Linked DNA regions of Homo sapiens: all the other regions are linked to region 1. Evidence: promoter capture Hi-C in 16 types of primary human blood cells and fetal thymus (Javierre and others, 2016). All regions are on one chromosome and are shown on one strand. Each heading gives the region's core, a stretch centred on a gene start or on the middle of the fragment in contact. The rest is flanking DNA. Distances are from core to core; before and after follow the strand shown.

Region 1 (2,787 bases), core at 109-2,608:
GTTGCCCAGGCTGGAACGCAATGGCGTGATCTCAGCTCACCTCAACCTCCGCCTCCTGGGTTCAAGCAATTCTCCTGCCTCAGCCTCCCAAATAGCTGGGATCACAGGCATGTGCCACCATGCCTGGCTAATTTTTTGTGTTTTTAGTACAGACAGGCTTTCTCCATGTTGGTCAGGCTGGTGTCGAACTCCCAACCTCAGGTGATCTGCCCGCCTCGGCCTCCCAAAGTGTTTTGATTACAGGCATGAGCCACCGCGCCAGGACTTCTTTTTTTGAGACAGAGTCTCGCTCTGTTGCCCAGGCCAGAGTGCAGTGGCATGATCTCAGCTCATTGCAACCTCCGTCTCCCGGGTTCAAGTGATTCTCCTGCCTCAGCCTCCCTGAGTAGCTGGGACTACAGGCACACACCATCATGCCCACCTAATTTTTTTTTTTTTTTTTGAGAATGGAGTCTCCCTCTGTCACCAAGGCTGGAGTGCATTGGTGCAATCTTGGCTCACTACAACCTCCGCCTCCTGGGTTCAAGCGATTCACCTGTCTCAGCCTCCCCCAGTAGCTGGGACTACAGGCGCGTGCCACCACAACCAGCTAATTTTTTTTTTTTTTTTGTATTTTTAGTAGAGACAAGGTTTCACCATGTTGTCCAGGCTGGTCTCGAACTCTTGACCTCAGGTGATCCACCCACCTCGGCCTCCCAAAGTGCTGGGATTACAGGCGTGAGCCACCGCGCCCGGCCAATTTTTATATTTTTAGTAGAGACGGGGTTTCACCATATTGGCCAGGCTGATCTCAAACTCCTGACCTCATGATCCACCCACGTCGGCCTCCCAAAGTGTTGCGAGTACAGGCGTGAGCCCCCGCGCCGGGCTAAGAAGGCAGTCTTTCTTCTTCACCTTAGATCCCTCTTGCCCAGCACAAAGTATTATAGAACAAGGTTTTGAAAATGGCTGAAGACAGCAGGAAACTCGTCTTCAAGCCTGAACAGTGGGAGTCAGCACGATCGCCACGCCCTCAACTCAAGTCCCCTCCCAGATCTTGAGTTCTTCCCTCTGAGAGTGGGGGAGGACGGCGGACGGGAACAAGGCGCCCCGACATGGTGTGCCTTTTGGCACCGGCGATGAGCCTTGCTCCGCCATCGGCCGCCGGGGTTTTCCAGTCAGCCTGTCTCCTGATTCTCTTCCCCTGCCCGGCGCAGCGGTCCGGCCGAATCTCGCCGGGGTCTCCTCTTCCCCTGCACCAGCCAGCGCCTCCTGGCTGGCCAGTCCCACCCTGGCTCACCCTTCCCGAAGAGCCTGCCGAGACCACTCATCGCGAGCTCGCCTCTCCCGCCTCCGCCCCTCAGCGTCCTCCAGACTTCCGCCTTGCTCCTGGGAGGGTGATGTCTCATCACACAGGGACCAGCCTTGCCCAATCCGTCCTCAGGGCGCCGCCGCGACATCAAGAGGCGCAAACGAGACCACCGGTGTCACGTGACCCAAGCCACCAGCCCCAGACCGACGCGCTCCTCTTAAAGCTGCCACATCATTTTCTATTAAGTAAAAAGACAGTTCTATCTCCACCTGAGTACGTGCTTGTTCTCCGGAAGGAAATGTGCAGTGTGATGGCACCTCAGTGTATGGGGTCAGTGGGAAAACTTCATGCTCTTTACAGAGCTCAGGAAAGTGGGGTGGTATAGGTTCAAGCACTTGGGGTTGCCCTAAGTTTAGATGGCAAACCTGATGCAGTCTAATGTCTCACATTCTGGTCTCTGCACCTCAGGACAACCAACCCCATTTCACAGGCTAGAAAAATAGAAACTCCCCACACTGTGGGTAAAATCTCTTCTGTCACACACAGATGAACTTTAATAAATTACAAATGCACCTGAAAATGCCTTCTTGATTTCCTTTCAGTTTAGGCCTCAAATGGGCTCTCCTCAAGGCTGGACCTCAAAGGCCCAGTTTGGGCCTTCGCAAATGTCTCTAACCCTTGACTTAGAGTTTGAAGATTCATTCCATTCTGGATGTGAATGCAGGTAACACCTAGAAAGATAAGAAGTCACATTTCATTAAGCTTTCAGGGTTCTCCATTATTACTCTGACCTTTGTGAGTGCCACCTATAGGGCAAACTATCCAACCTGTATGTATCTACCTAATCCCTCCTAGGGACCCCAAATGGCTGTTCCTCATCACTCAGTACCCAGTTTGCTGACGTCTACAATATTCCGCCTCTCATCATCAAAGAAGATCATCTGGGAGAAAGGAATTCCAGTCTTCTGCTGCAACCTATTCAAGACAGGGCAGGAGTAACCAAGCTAGTATCTTGGTTTCCCAGGCCTCTCTGATACTTTCTCACCCTGCTCCTCCCTTATCTCCGCATACCTCTCAAAGTGTGTGATCTTGCTGCCTGGATAGATTTCCCGATGAACAAAGTACCTGAAGAGGTCAAAGAGCTCCAGTAGCTGGTTGGCCCCTTCTATCTCACTTGTCCTGCAAAACGGTGTAAAAGATGGGATTAGCAAAGTGAAGGGCCAGGGCTACGTTAACTTATTAAGCAAAGTTAGTAAGTATAACCAGGGAAATCAACTTGCTGTTTTTCCGGGATGGACAGGCATCCTCAGCCTCTGTTTAACTCCATTGCCTTCCTATTTGACACAATTGGTGCTGGGCCAATGTTTTAGCTTTTGTTTTGAGACAGGGTCTAGCTCTGTTGCCCAGACTGGAGTGCAGCGACCCAATCACGGCTCACTGTGGTCACGACCTCCTGGGCTCAAGTGATCCTCCCACCTCAGCCTCCCAAGTAGCTG
Region 2 (2,787 bases), core at 162-2,661, 2.8 Mb before region 1:
AAAGCAGGGTAAATTCAAGACAGATCAGATAAAGATTTCTACATGTCTAGAACACCAAAAAACTGTCAGAAACTCCTCACTAAATTTAATAAAATAATTTTTGTTCCACATTGATAAAAAACTTACATATCTGAATTTTAAATGGCTTCTTCTAGATGTTCTGACTAAAAATTCTGATTAAGTTCATTGAAGATAGAAGTTATTCCTGCAGGTCCCAAGAATAACGTAGTGCTAGATTCACTGTCAATTCTATATTAAGAATTCTGGGCCAGGCGTGGTGGCTCATGCCTGTAATCCCAGCACTTTGGGAGGCTGAGGCAGGTGGATCACTTGAGGTTAGGAGTTCAAGACCACCCTGGCCAACATAGCGAAACTCTGTCCCTACTAAAAATACCAAAATTAGCCGGGAGTCAGCCAGGCGTGGTGGCTCACGCCTGTAATCCCAGCACTTTGGGAGGCTGAGGGCAGGCGGATCACCTGAGGTTGGGAGTTCGAGACCAGCCTGACCAACATGGAGAAACCCCATCTCTACTAAAAGTACAACAAATTAGCTGGGCGTGGTGCCGCATGCCTGTAATCCCAGCTACTGGGGAGGCTGAGGCAGAAAAATCGCTTGAACCCAGGAGGCGGAGATCGCGGTGAGCAGAGATCACGGCATTGTACTCCATCCAGCCTGGACAACAAGAGTGAAACTCTGTATCAAAAAAAAAAAAAAAAAAAAAGCTGGGTGTGGTCGTGCATGGCTGCAATCCCAGTTACTCAGGAGGCTGAGGCAGGAGAATCACTTGAACCCAGGAGGCGGAGGTTGCAGTGAGCTGAGATCATGCCACTGCACTCCAGCCTGGGTTACAGAACGAGACTCTGTCTCAAGCAAAAAAAAAAAAAAAAAAAAGAATTCTGTACTAGTCATATTAGGATTTTCTGTGATTTTCTATGATATTTCTTAAGAGTTTCAGTTGACTATAAGGGAGTAGCAGAAGTACTTGAGGTAAAAATAGGTAACAGTGAAGGAAAAGCCCTTCTTACAGGCTGCTCTATAATGTTAAATTAAAGACAGAGATGGCATTAGCCTTCTAGCCACCAGCCTTTCCCATATCAACCATTCTGTTTATTGCACTCTTGTTCTCATCGAGGCTAACAGGGAAAACTGAAACATTCTCCCATGGTAACACTTCCATTAATATAAAAATAAGCCTCATAAATCTACATATATTTTATGTTTCAAACTTGTTAAATGCAAAATATTGATAGTTTACTTTAAAATTAATTTTGTTAAAAGATATTCCATGTGGTTATATAGACACATAAATATATGTGTATGCACATAGTCAGCCTTCCATATCCATGGATTCAACCATCTGTGGATTGAAAATATTTGAAAACAACAAGAAACTAAAAAATAACAAGAGAAAATACTACAGATTTTAAAACAATACCGTGTAACAACTATTTACATAGTATTTATATTGTGTTAGGTATTATAAGTAATCAAGAGATTAAAGTGTATCAGAGGAAGTGTGTCGGTTACATGGAAATACTACATGATTTTATTTATTTATTTATTTATTTTTTGAGGCAGGGTCTCACACTCTATTGCCCAGGCTGGAGTGCAGTGGCATGATCATGGGTCACTGTAGTCTCAGCCTCTGGGCTCAAGTGATCCTCCTGCCTCAGCTTCCACATAGCTGATACTAGAGGACTGCACTACCACGCCCAGCTAATTTTTTGTAGAGATAAGGTCCCACTGGGGTCCCCAGGCTGGTCTTGAACTCCTGGGCACAAGTGATCCTCTTGCCTCAGCCTCCCAAAGTGCTGGGATTACAGGTAAGAGCCACCGCACCTGGCTCTACACCATTTTATATATAAAGGACTCGAGCATCCATGGATTTTGGTATCTGCAGGGGTCCTGGAACCAATCCCTCACAGATACCAAGGGATGACTGTATGTGTATAAAGATTTCTATAGAAGATCAAATGGGGGAATAATTAGATAAGGCAAGTATATACAAGTGCTAATCCATTTTAAATGACTCTATGTCATTTAAAACAATGATTTATGTATGCTTTAAAAATACAACTATTGACCAGGCGCTGTGGCTCACGCCTGTAATCCCAACACTTTGGGAGGCTGAGGCGGGTGGATCACAAGGTCAGTAGTTCGAGACCAGCCTGACCAACATGGTGAAACCCCGTCTCTACTAAAAATACAGAAATTAGCTGGGCATGGTTGCACACACCTGTAATCCCAGCTACTCGGGAGGCTGAGGCAGGAGAATCACTTGAACTTGGGAGGTAAAGGTTGCAGTGAGCTGAGATCAGTCCATTGCACTCCAGCCTGGGCAACAGAGCAAGACTCCGTCTCAGGAAAAAAAAAAAAAAATTACAACTATTGGCCAGGCACAGTGGCTCATGCCTGTAATCCCAGTACTTCGGGAGGCTTAGGCAGGTGGATCACCTGAGGTCGGGAGTTTGAGAACAGTCTGGCCAACATGGCAAAACCTTCTTTCTATTAAAAATACAAAAATTAGCTGGGTATGGTAGCATGCGCCAGTGGTCCCAGCTACTTGGGAGGCTGAGGCAAGAGAATCACTTGAACCGGGGATGCAGAGCTTGCCGTGAGCTGAGATTGTGGCACTGCCCTCCAGCCTGGGTGACAGGGCAAGACTCTGTCTCAAAAAAATAAAAGATTAAAAAACAAATACAACTATTGCAGAAAGTAAGGTAAGCATAGCCAAGAGAAACTTTTGCAGTTGAAATTTGGTGGAAAGAATAAACTGTGGGTACTTA
Region 3 (2,787 bases), core at 180-2,679, 2.8 Mb before region 1:
CATATTTAAGATAAAAAAGGTCAATTGCAAGGGATTCAACATTGTTTCCAATTTATATTCCCAACTTCCTCTTACCATCTCTTACATATATTTTACATTCCAGTCCAACTAGACTACACAATTCCCTTAATGTGATTCCTACCTGTGTGACTTTGCTTATGATGCTGTGCTTTCTGCCTGGAACACGTCCTCTCCATCCCAATGCCAATAATCTCTCGCAGCTAAAATCCTACCAACCCTCAAAGGTCTTCTACTCCATTAAGTGAGCCCTGAACCTCTGACGCTTTAACAACTGAGCAACTTGTGATGACTTGATCCCTCCACCTCCTTTAAATACCCACACCATTGTTTATACCTTAAAACACTTATATTTAATATTTTATTATAATGACCTAAGTCTGTAATATATCCTCTGAAGGCCCAAATGGTTCCTTTGCGCAAATTGTAAAAAGTTGCCCACTTCTCAAGATGCCTGGAAAACTGCCATACTAAATATATAAAAATTTGTTATGAATGTATGCAATGTACACCCTCCACAACTCTGTACCATGGCCCAGCTCCTCTTTCTCTGGGAGAAAGTTCTTGGATGGTGGGGACTATGTTTTATTTATCTGTGGATCCCCTAAGAACCAGCAGGACATAGCACATATAGTAGCTAATCAAAAAACAGTTAATGAATTATACTTGCTCGCATTATCTGGAGTAAACCATTCGATCCTCACAGAAACTAAATGGTATCCTTTGATTCTAACATGAGATGGTAAAAAGCTTCCTATCTTGAAAACATGTCTTATGAATGGCTGAAAGTAGGTTCACAAAATCCATGTCTAGGGTTTTAAGTTCATGAAACTAGTGGAAAAAAGAAAAGCTATCAAAGACAGGGAAGTATATCACCATAAAACCCAAATATATGAAAAAGAAATATCTGTTCTTTGTATATGATGACAGTATTTGACAATACAGGAAAGTCTTGCTTGGTAAGACCATTTCTCCTAACTTTTGGAAGACACCAGATAAGAAATTTGTCAGAGGCACAGTCCTGACTGAAGGAGACTTTTCCATATAACCCCCATGCTATGTTTTTTCCTTCCCAACCCATCTCACTTATCCTTATAAAACAATATAATATGGGTTAATATATCAGATACTCCAAAACAGACAAAGAGAACAAACACGTGAGTCAAAATTACAAAGTATACATGGTATCTCCAACAATGTTAAACAAGATCGTCCTTGCTTCAGTAATTGCATACTTTTCATATCTCAACCCAAGATCCATACCATCTCCCATTCCTGGCTAGCCTATTCCACCAGCTCATTCCAGCCTCTCATATCTAATATTTGCCTCCAAATTACTCAAAATGGCAATCAGGAAAGTTATGAATGCTTCCTGATTTAACGAAAACCTACTCAATAACTTGATATTAATAAATTTCCTTCCCATTATCATCAGCTTTTTTCCAGTATACCTACTTTGGCACCAATTATTTTTCATTCTCTACTCACCGTCAGAAGTTAAAGTATCTACAGCTAGGAGTAATATAAAAACAACAGTGAAAGTTTCTTTTTTTTTTTTTTTTTTTTTCTGAGACAGAGTTTCACTCTTGTCGCCCAGGCTGGAGTGCAATGGCGCGATCTCGGCTCACCGCAACCTCTACCTCCTGGGTTCAAGCGATTCTCCTGCCTCAGCCTCCCGAATAGCTGGGATTACAGGCCTGCGCCACCACACTCGGCTAATTTTGTATTTTTAGTAGAGACAGGTTTTCGCCACGTTAGTCAGACTGGTCTCGGACTCTCGACTTCAGAGGTGAGCCGTCGCCTCAGCCTCCCAAAGTGCTGGGATTATAGGCATGAGCCACCACGCTGAAAGTTTCTACTAACCAGAAGTTTACGTTGCAAATAGTTTATAGCCTGCTCCTTATTCCATGGAGTATTTTGTCGCTTCCATGATTCCTTGCTATTTGTTAATTCTAATGCTCTTCCTTTCCCCCATAATGATCCAATCTTAGGCCCAGATTTTTTTTTTTTTAAATAGGAGAAACAAGGCTGATGGTTTCTGATGAATCTCCTTACCCCCATATGACTTAGTATAAGCTTTTTAAAGATCAATGCATTGTCATTTATCTCTCCCTTCCCAATTTTCGAACCAAATTTCTGCTTCTTCTAGTTCGGTCTATGCCTAATAATTCAAAAACCTTGCCACCAAGTATCATTACTTCTCAGTCCCATCATTCTCACCTATACTGACCCAATTCATCTCATATTTTTATGCTAGTTTCCTACTTCTTTTCTAGTTCCTATCTTTAAACTGTCCTTGACTCTTACAAGATTAAACCTTCTCCCAACATACATCTAACTTTTTTTAACCCTCCTTCTACTACTACTTGTGGGTCACCCTGGCTATATCCACATACGGCCTATTTATTCTACCAAGCTCATCTATCTCATGAATCCTCTCAACCATCTCATGAATTCTCTTTCCTTGATTCAAACCCTAATAGCAAAAATGAACAGATGTTAAGTTGGTTTCAATGCAAAGTAACTGCCTAGATAAAGAAGTCACACCAACTTTTATCATATTAAGAATGAAAAGCCAGTGTTGGCCCACCAGTCCCCAAAAGAGAAACACATGTATGTGCTCAAAAGGAAAGACAAAACTTAGTGGTTGTACTTAGTCACTTTCCATAATTACAAACTAATGACCAGAATCATGACAGAAATCTTGGAGGGCATGTAGGGGGTGAGGGATGGCAGTGGAAGGGAAAAGTAACAAACTAGTCAGTTAAG
Region 4 (2,787 bases), core at 98-2,597, 2.7 Mb before region 1:
ACTAGAAAGCAGAAAAGTCATAAGATGTCCCATCCAGCAGTGATGAGCATCTTCCTTTTTTACTGGAATCAAGCCACAAGAAGAGAATGAGCCAGGAATAAGGAAAACACAGTTGTCTTAAGTCTCACTGGTTTCGTTACTAGTGCATATAAAAGCAGCTTGCCACCAGGGAATTCAGAGACAGTGATATGGATAAAATTAGGTGAAAAAAAAGATAAGAGCTAAGGACTGAAAAAGGGAATAAAAATGGCAACAAAAGACCTTATGAAAAACAGGATAAAAGGCTGCAGAGCTGGGCGTGGTGGCTCATGCCTATAATCCCAGCACTGTGGGAGGCTGAGGCAGGAGGATTACTTGAGCCCAGGAGTTTAAGAACAGCCTGCACAATACAGTGAGACCCTGTCTCTACAAAAATTTAAAAATCAGCAGAGCGTGGTGACACATGCCTGTAGTCCCAGCTACGTGAGAGGCTGAGGTGAGAGGATCTCTTGAGCCCTGGAAACAGGTTGCCGTGAGCTGAGCACGTTACTGTACTCCAGCCTGGGCAACAGCACGAGACCTTGTCGCAAAAAAAAAACAAAACCAAAAAAACAAACTGAAGAATAAGGCAAGGTTGGGCTGTTTGTGATTCGTATTTTTCAATTTGAAAATTTTCATTTGGGAGGTTTCCAGTTTTCCAACTCCTTGGAAAAAAAGTGTAAGACCATTAAAGAACAACAAATCTACAATATTTTAATTTATTATACCATCAGCTGTGTGAAGACCAGGGAAGATCTAAATGTCAACCCTCCCAAATTTGTACCTCTAGCCCAGATGCTTGACTAAGCACCAGATTTGTACATTTGTGAATTCTTCATTTCCACACTGATACATAAAACGGACTTCAAACTTAACACATCAAAATGGAACTTCTTTTCCCCTAGCCTGTGTTTGCTGCAGGCTTCTGTATCTCAGTAAATGGCATAAGCCAAAAACCAAAGTGTTATTATTGATACCCTTTGCTCCCTACTCCAAATATCTAATCCATTCCAAAGTGAAGTACTTCCAATATGTACCTTAAAATTATCCTTTCTTTCTCTTTCCAGGGTCACTTCCTAGACCAAGCTACCATTCTTTCTCATGTGGACTATTGCAACTGGGATACTACTTCAGTCCTTGTTCTCCTCCAGAGTGATCTTTTAAAATCTGATCAAGCCACTTCTCTACTTAAAACTTTAAAATGCTTCAGGTGTATTTATTTATTATTATTTTTAATCCCCCATCTCCCAAGCTTCAATTTCCATGTATTTAGAATAAAATCCAAAACCCTTACTCAGGCCTCTAAGGTGCTATAAAATCTGGTCCCTACCTACTTTTCCAACCTCATCTTGCACTATTCCCTCTTGATTTAGTCCAATCACACTAGGTTTCTTTCAATAAACGTGTCAAGCTTCTTCCAAGTTCAAGGTGTTTGTATAGTTTGTTCCCCCCAAGTAATACCCTTTTAAAAAAATCTTTGCCCAGCAGGCTCTTGCCCATCCTTCAGATCCCAGCTTAATATCACTCCTAATCAAAAGTAGGTACCCTGTTATTCTTTCGTAGCACCCTTTTTCCTCCATTGCATTTATCACAATTTACAATTTGATACAAATAATTTTATATTTAACATCTATGCCCCCACTAGACTGTAAGCTGCACAAGAGCAGGGGGACGACTTTTTTCCACCTTGCAAACTCAGAATCTGGCACAGTCGTTTTCAATACATTGACTGATACACTAAAAATAATTAGCAGGATGGGTGTGGTGGCTCACGCCTGTAATCCCAGCACTTTGGGAGGCCGAGGCAGGCGGATCGCCTGAGGTCAGGAGTTCAAGACCAGCCTGATCAACATGGAGAAACCCCGTCTATACTAAAAATACAAAAAAATTAACTGGGCTTGGTGGCACATGCCTGTAATCCCAGCTACTCGGGAGACTGAGGCAGGAGAATCGCTTGAACCCAGGAGGTGGAGGTTGCAGTAAGACGAGATCATGCCATTGTGCTCTAGCCTGGGTGACAAGAGTGAAACTCCATCTCATAACAAACAAATGAAAACAAACAAACAAACAAAAAACCAATTAGCCTGTGGCCACAGTTCTCAAATAGTACACTCTGGGCACTACTACAAACTCACAAGGGTGCCATGGGATACCTCAAACTTTTGAGAAAAACACAGTAACACTCAACACAAGGATACTTACTACATGAATTACAAGCTTAAGACAGTTGCAATGTCAATATCAGACCATGATAAAATTCGTTCAATATCTTCATATCTCTGAGAAGCTGTTTCTGGCAGTTGCTGTTATAAAAAAGCAAGCACTACACAAAAATCAATATGAAATGGGAAATGAGAGTAGCAGTGTGCAATCGTGATTCCAAGGTTTGAGAAGCTATGCAGTGCCCAACAGACACATAGAGGTCTTTAGTAAGTAACTGTTGCTATTTAAGAATGAAATAATTTTTTTTTTTTTGAGACAAAGTCTCACTCTGTCGCCCTGGCTGGAGTGCAGTGGCACTATCTCAGCTCACTGCAACCTCCGCCTCCCGAGTTCAAGCAATTCTCCTGCCTCAAGCTCCCAAATAGCTGGGACTAGAGGTGCGTGCCACCACGCCTGGCTACTTTTTGTATTTTTTCAGTACAGACGGGGTTTCACCATATTGGCCAGGCTGGTCTTGAACTCCTGACTTTCTAATCTACCCACCTCGGCCTCCCAAAGTGCTAGGATTACGGGCTTGAGCCACCACGCCTGGCATATTTTTTCTTT
Region 5 (2,787 bases), core at 97-2,596, 2.7 Mb before region 1:
AGTGGCTCACACTTGTAATCCTAGAACTTTGGGAGGCCAAGGTGGGAAGATCACTTGAGCCCAAGAGTTCAAGGCTGCAGTGAGTGGTGATGGAGCCATGCACTCAGCCTGGGCGACAGGGTAAGACCCTGTCTCAGAATTAAAAAAAACAACAACAAAACAACATACATAAATACATGATTTGTGTACTACTGAGAAAAGTTCAGTTCTTGGGGAAAGTTTCAGTTTTTCCCATCAAGAACTGCGTGGTATTTTTTGTTATTTGTGTGTGTGTGTGTGCGCGTGTGAGACAGAGTCTTGCTCTGTCATCCAGGCTGGAGTGCAGTGATGTGATCTTGGCTCACTGCAGCCTTCAACTCCTGGGTTCAAGCGATTCTCGTGCCTCAGCCACCTGGGTAGCTGGGATTACAGACGCACACCACCACACCCAGCTAATTTTTGTATTTTTAGTAGAGATGGGGTTTTCCATGTTGGCCAGGCTGGTCCCGAACTCCCGACTTTTCAAGTGATCCACCCACCTTGGCTTCCCAAAGTACTGGGATTACAGGTGTGAGCCACCACTACCAGCTGAGAACTGTGTGTTCTTATGCTCCGTGTGCTACTTATATCTCAGACAACGACCAGATTTTTTACCATACCAAGTAAAATAGTAAGGAGAAGGGAAACTGTACATATATCTTTTTGTCTTTTAGGAAACTTTTACAAATGTGATTCAGAGATTGGGCATTTCACAGGCACACTTTTTTCTCCCTAGTTTCTGCTAGCTGGAAATTTTCTTTCTAGCAATGTCTTTTTTTTTTTTTTTTTTTTTTTTTTTTTTTTTTTTTGAGACAGAGTCTTGCTCTGTCACCCGGGCTGGAGTGCAGTGGCACAATCTCGGCTCACTGCAGCCTCTGCCTCCTGGATTCAAGTGATTCTCCTGCCTCAGCCTCCTGATGTAGATGGCATTACAGGCACCTGCCACCACACCTGGCTAATTTTTGTATTTTTAGTAGAGATGGATTTTCGCCATGTTGGCCAGGCTGGTCTCGAACTCTTGACCTCAGGTGGTCCACCCACCTCGGCCTCCCAAAGTGCTGAGATTATAGGCATGAGCCACGGCACCCGGCCTTTATTTTCTTTCTTTTTCTTTTTTTTTAGACATGGTCTTGGTCTGTCGCCCAGGCAGGATTGCAGTGGTGCAGTCTTGACTCACTGTGACCTCTGACTCCTGAGTTCAAGTGATCCTCGTGCCTCAGCCTCTCGAGTAGCTAGGATTATAGGTGTGTGCCACCATGCCTGACTAATTTTTTGTTCTTTTGGTAGAGACGGGTTTCACTGTGTTGGCCAGGCTGGTCTCGAACTCCTGGCCTCGTGTGATCCGCCCACCTGGGCCTCCCGAAGTGCTGGGATTACAGGCGTGAGCCACTGCTCCCAGCCTAATGTCTTCATTAAACCAGAATTAGAGGCTGGGCGCTGTGGCTCATGCCTGTAATCCCAACAGTTTGGGAGGTCAAGGCAGGGTGATGGCTTGAGCCCAGGGGTTCAAGACCAGTCTGGGCAATATGGCCAGACCCAATCTCTACAAAAAATGCAAAAATTAGCCTGGCGTCATGGCCAGGCGTGGTGGCTCACGCCTGTGATCTCAGCACTTTGGGAGGCCAAGGAGGGCGGATCACCTGAGGTCGGGAGTTCAAGACCAGCCTGACCAACATGGAGAAACCCCGTCTCTACTAAAAATACAAAATTAGCCGGGCATGGTGGCACATGTCTGTAATCCCAGCTACTAGGGAGGCTGAGGCAGGAGAATCACTTGAACCTGGGAGGCGGAGGTTGCGGTGAGCTGAGATCACGCCATTGCACTCCAGCCTGGGCAACAAGAGTGAAACTCTGTCTCAAAAATAAAATAATAATAAAAATTAGCCTGGCATGGTGGTGTGCACCTGTAGTTACTTGGGAACCTGAGGTGGGAGAATCACTTGAACCCAGGAGGCGGAGGTTGCAGTGAGCAATATCACGCCACTGCATTTTATCATGGGTGACAAAGGAGACTCTATCTCAAAAAAAAAAAAAACTGCCAGGTGCGGTGGCCCATGCCTGTAATCCCAGCACTTTGGGAGGCTGAGGCGGGTGGATCACGAGGTCAAGAGATCGAGGCCAACATGGTGAAACCCCGTCTCTATTAAAAAACACAAAAATTAGCTGGGCGTGGTGGCACACACCTGTAGTCCTAGCTACTCTGGAGGCTGAGGCAGGAGAACTGCTTGAACCCGGGAGGTGGAGGTTGTAGTGAGCCAAGATCGCGCCACTGCACTCCAGCCTGGGCCACGGAGCGAGACTCTGTCTCAAAAAAAAGAAAAAAAAAAAAAGACAGAAATGGTCATAATAGAAGAACATTTCAGGATCTAGAGGAACCTTGAGGTCTGTAAGCCCAACACTTTGGAGGCCGAGGCAGTAGGATTACTTGAGTCCAGGAGTTCGAGACTAGCCTGGGCAACACAGGGAGAGCTCGTCTCCACAAAAAATTTTAAAAATTAGCTGGGTGTGGTGGCACATACCTGTAGTCCCAGCTACTCGGGAGGCTGGGGCTGGAGGCTTGCTTGAGCCCAGGAGTTCCAGATCAGCTTGGGTGACAGGGCAAGACCCCATCTCAAAAAAAAAGAAAAGGAACCTTTAGGAACTCTATTTAAAGAATGCATTGTTCAATTATGAAAAAAAAAAATGTTGGTACCTATTGAATTTGATCTGAATCAGTTTATATTTACTATGCTATGTGTTAGATTGATAGAATTTAAAGTTTCTAAAATT

What was found. Contacts are between HindIII fragments. The CHiCAGO score rates a contact against its expected background, and 5 or more counts as called.
Region 2: a contact is called between a fragment that was not itself captured here and the fragment with the promoter of CHMP4A in region 1, in 1 of 17 cell types (non-activated CD4 T cells). The highest score is 7.9, in non-activated CD4 T cells.
Region 3: a contact is called between a fragment that was not itself captured here and the fragment with the promoter of CHMP4A in region 1, in 1 of 17 cell types (non-activated CD4 T cells). The highest score is 6.0, in non-activated CD4 T cells.
Region 4: a fragment that was not itself captured here is called in contact with the fragment with the promoter of CHMP4A in region 1 in 1 of 17 cell types (activated CD4 T cells); the score reaches 6.4 in activated CD4 T cells.
Region 5: a contact is called between a fragment that was not itself captured here and the fragment with the promoter of CHMP4A in region 1, in 1 of 17 cell types (naive CD8 T cells). The highest score is 6.1, in naive CD8 T cells.

The regions. Positions count from the first base shown.
Region 1 is chr14:24,212,130-24,214,916 of GRCh38, forward strand. CHMP4A (charged multivesicular body protein 4A) reads right to left here and starts at 1,359. Exons shown (of 6, transcript NM_014169.5): 1 at 1,280-1,359. The coding sequence starts at 1,310. It overlaps NEDD8-MDP1 (NEDD8-MDP1 readthrough), which reads right to left. Exons shown (of 7, transcript NM_001199823.3): 5 at 2,363-2,470; 6 at 2,181-2,266; 7 at 1,814-2,022. The coding sequence ends at 1,895. It overlaps MDP1 (magnesium dependent phosphatase 1), which reads right to left. Exons shown (of 6, transcript NM_138476.4): 4 at 2,363-2,470; 5 at 2,181-2,266; 6 at 1,814-2,022. The coding sequence ends at 1,895. RefSeq lists enhancers at 768-887, 842-1,650, 1,078-1,577, 1,214-1,508, 2,663-2,787. The HindIII fragment of the contact is 5,751 bases long and covers 1-2,051 here.
Region 2 is chr14:21,386,938-21,389,724 of GRCh38, forward strand. The region is part of intron 37 of CHD8 (chromodomain helicase DNA binding protein 8); the gene reads right to left. All of the region lies in intron 1 of LOC107984643 (a long non-coding RNA gene), which reads left to right. Among named protein-coding and RNA genes, the nearest start is that of SNORD9, 3.9 kb to the right of the region's middle. The HindIII fragment of the contact is 7,320 bases long and covers 1-2,787 here.
Region 3 is chr14:21,432,476-21,435,262 of GRCh38, forward strand. All of the region lies in intron 1 of CHD8 (chromodomain helicase DNA binding protein 8), which reads right to left. Among named protein-coding and RNA genes, the nearest start is that of CHD8, 22 kb to the right of the region's middle. The HindIII fragment of the contact is 1,326 bases long and covers 767-2,092 here.
Region 4 is chr14:21,464,432-21,467,218 of GRCh38, forward strand. The region is part of intron 5 of RAB2B (RAB2B, member RAS oncogene family); the gene reads right to left. It overlaps LOC124903283 (a long non-coding RNA gene), which reads left to right. Exons shown (of 2, transcript XR_007064064.1): 2 at 1,086-1,439. Among named protein-coding and RNA genes, the nearest start is that of CHD8, 9.7 kb to the left of the region's middle. The HindIII fragment of the contact is 159 bases long and covers 1,269-1,427 here.
Region 5 is chr14:21,483,540-21,486,326 of GRCh38, forward strand. All of the region lies in intron 2 of TOX4 (TOX high mobility group box family member 4), which reads left to right. Among named protein-coding and RNA genes, the nearest start is that of TOX4, 7.7 kb to the left of the region's middle. The HindIII fragment of the contact is 3,821 bases long and covers 1-2,787 here.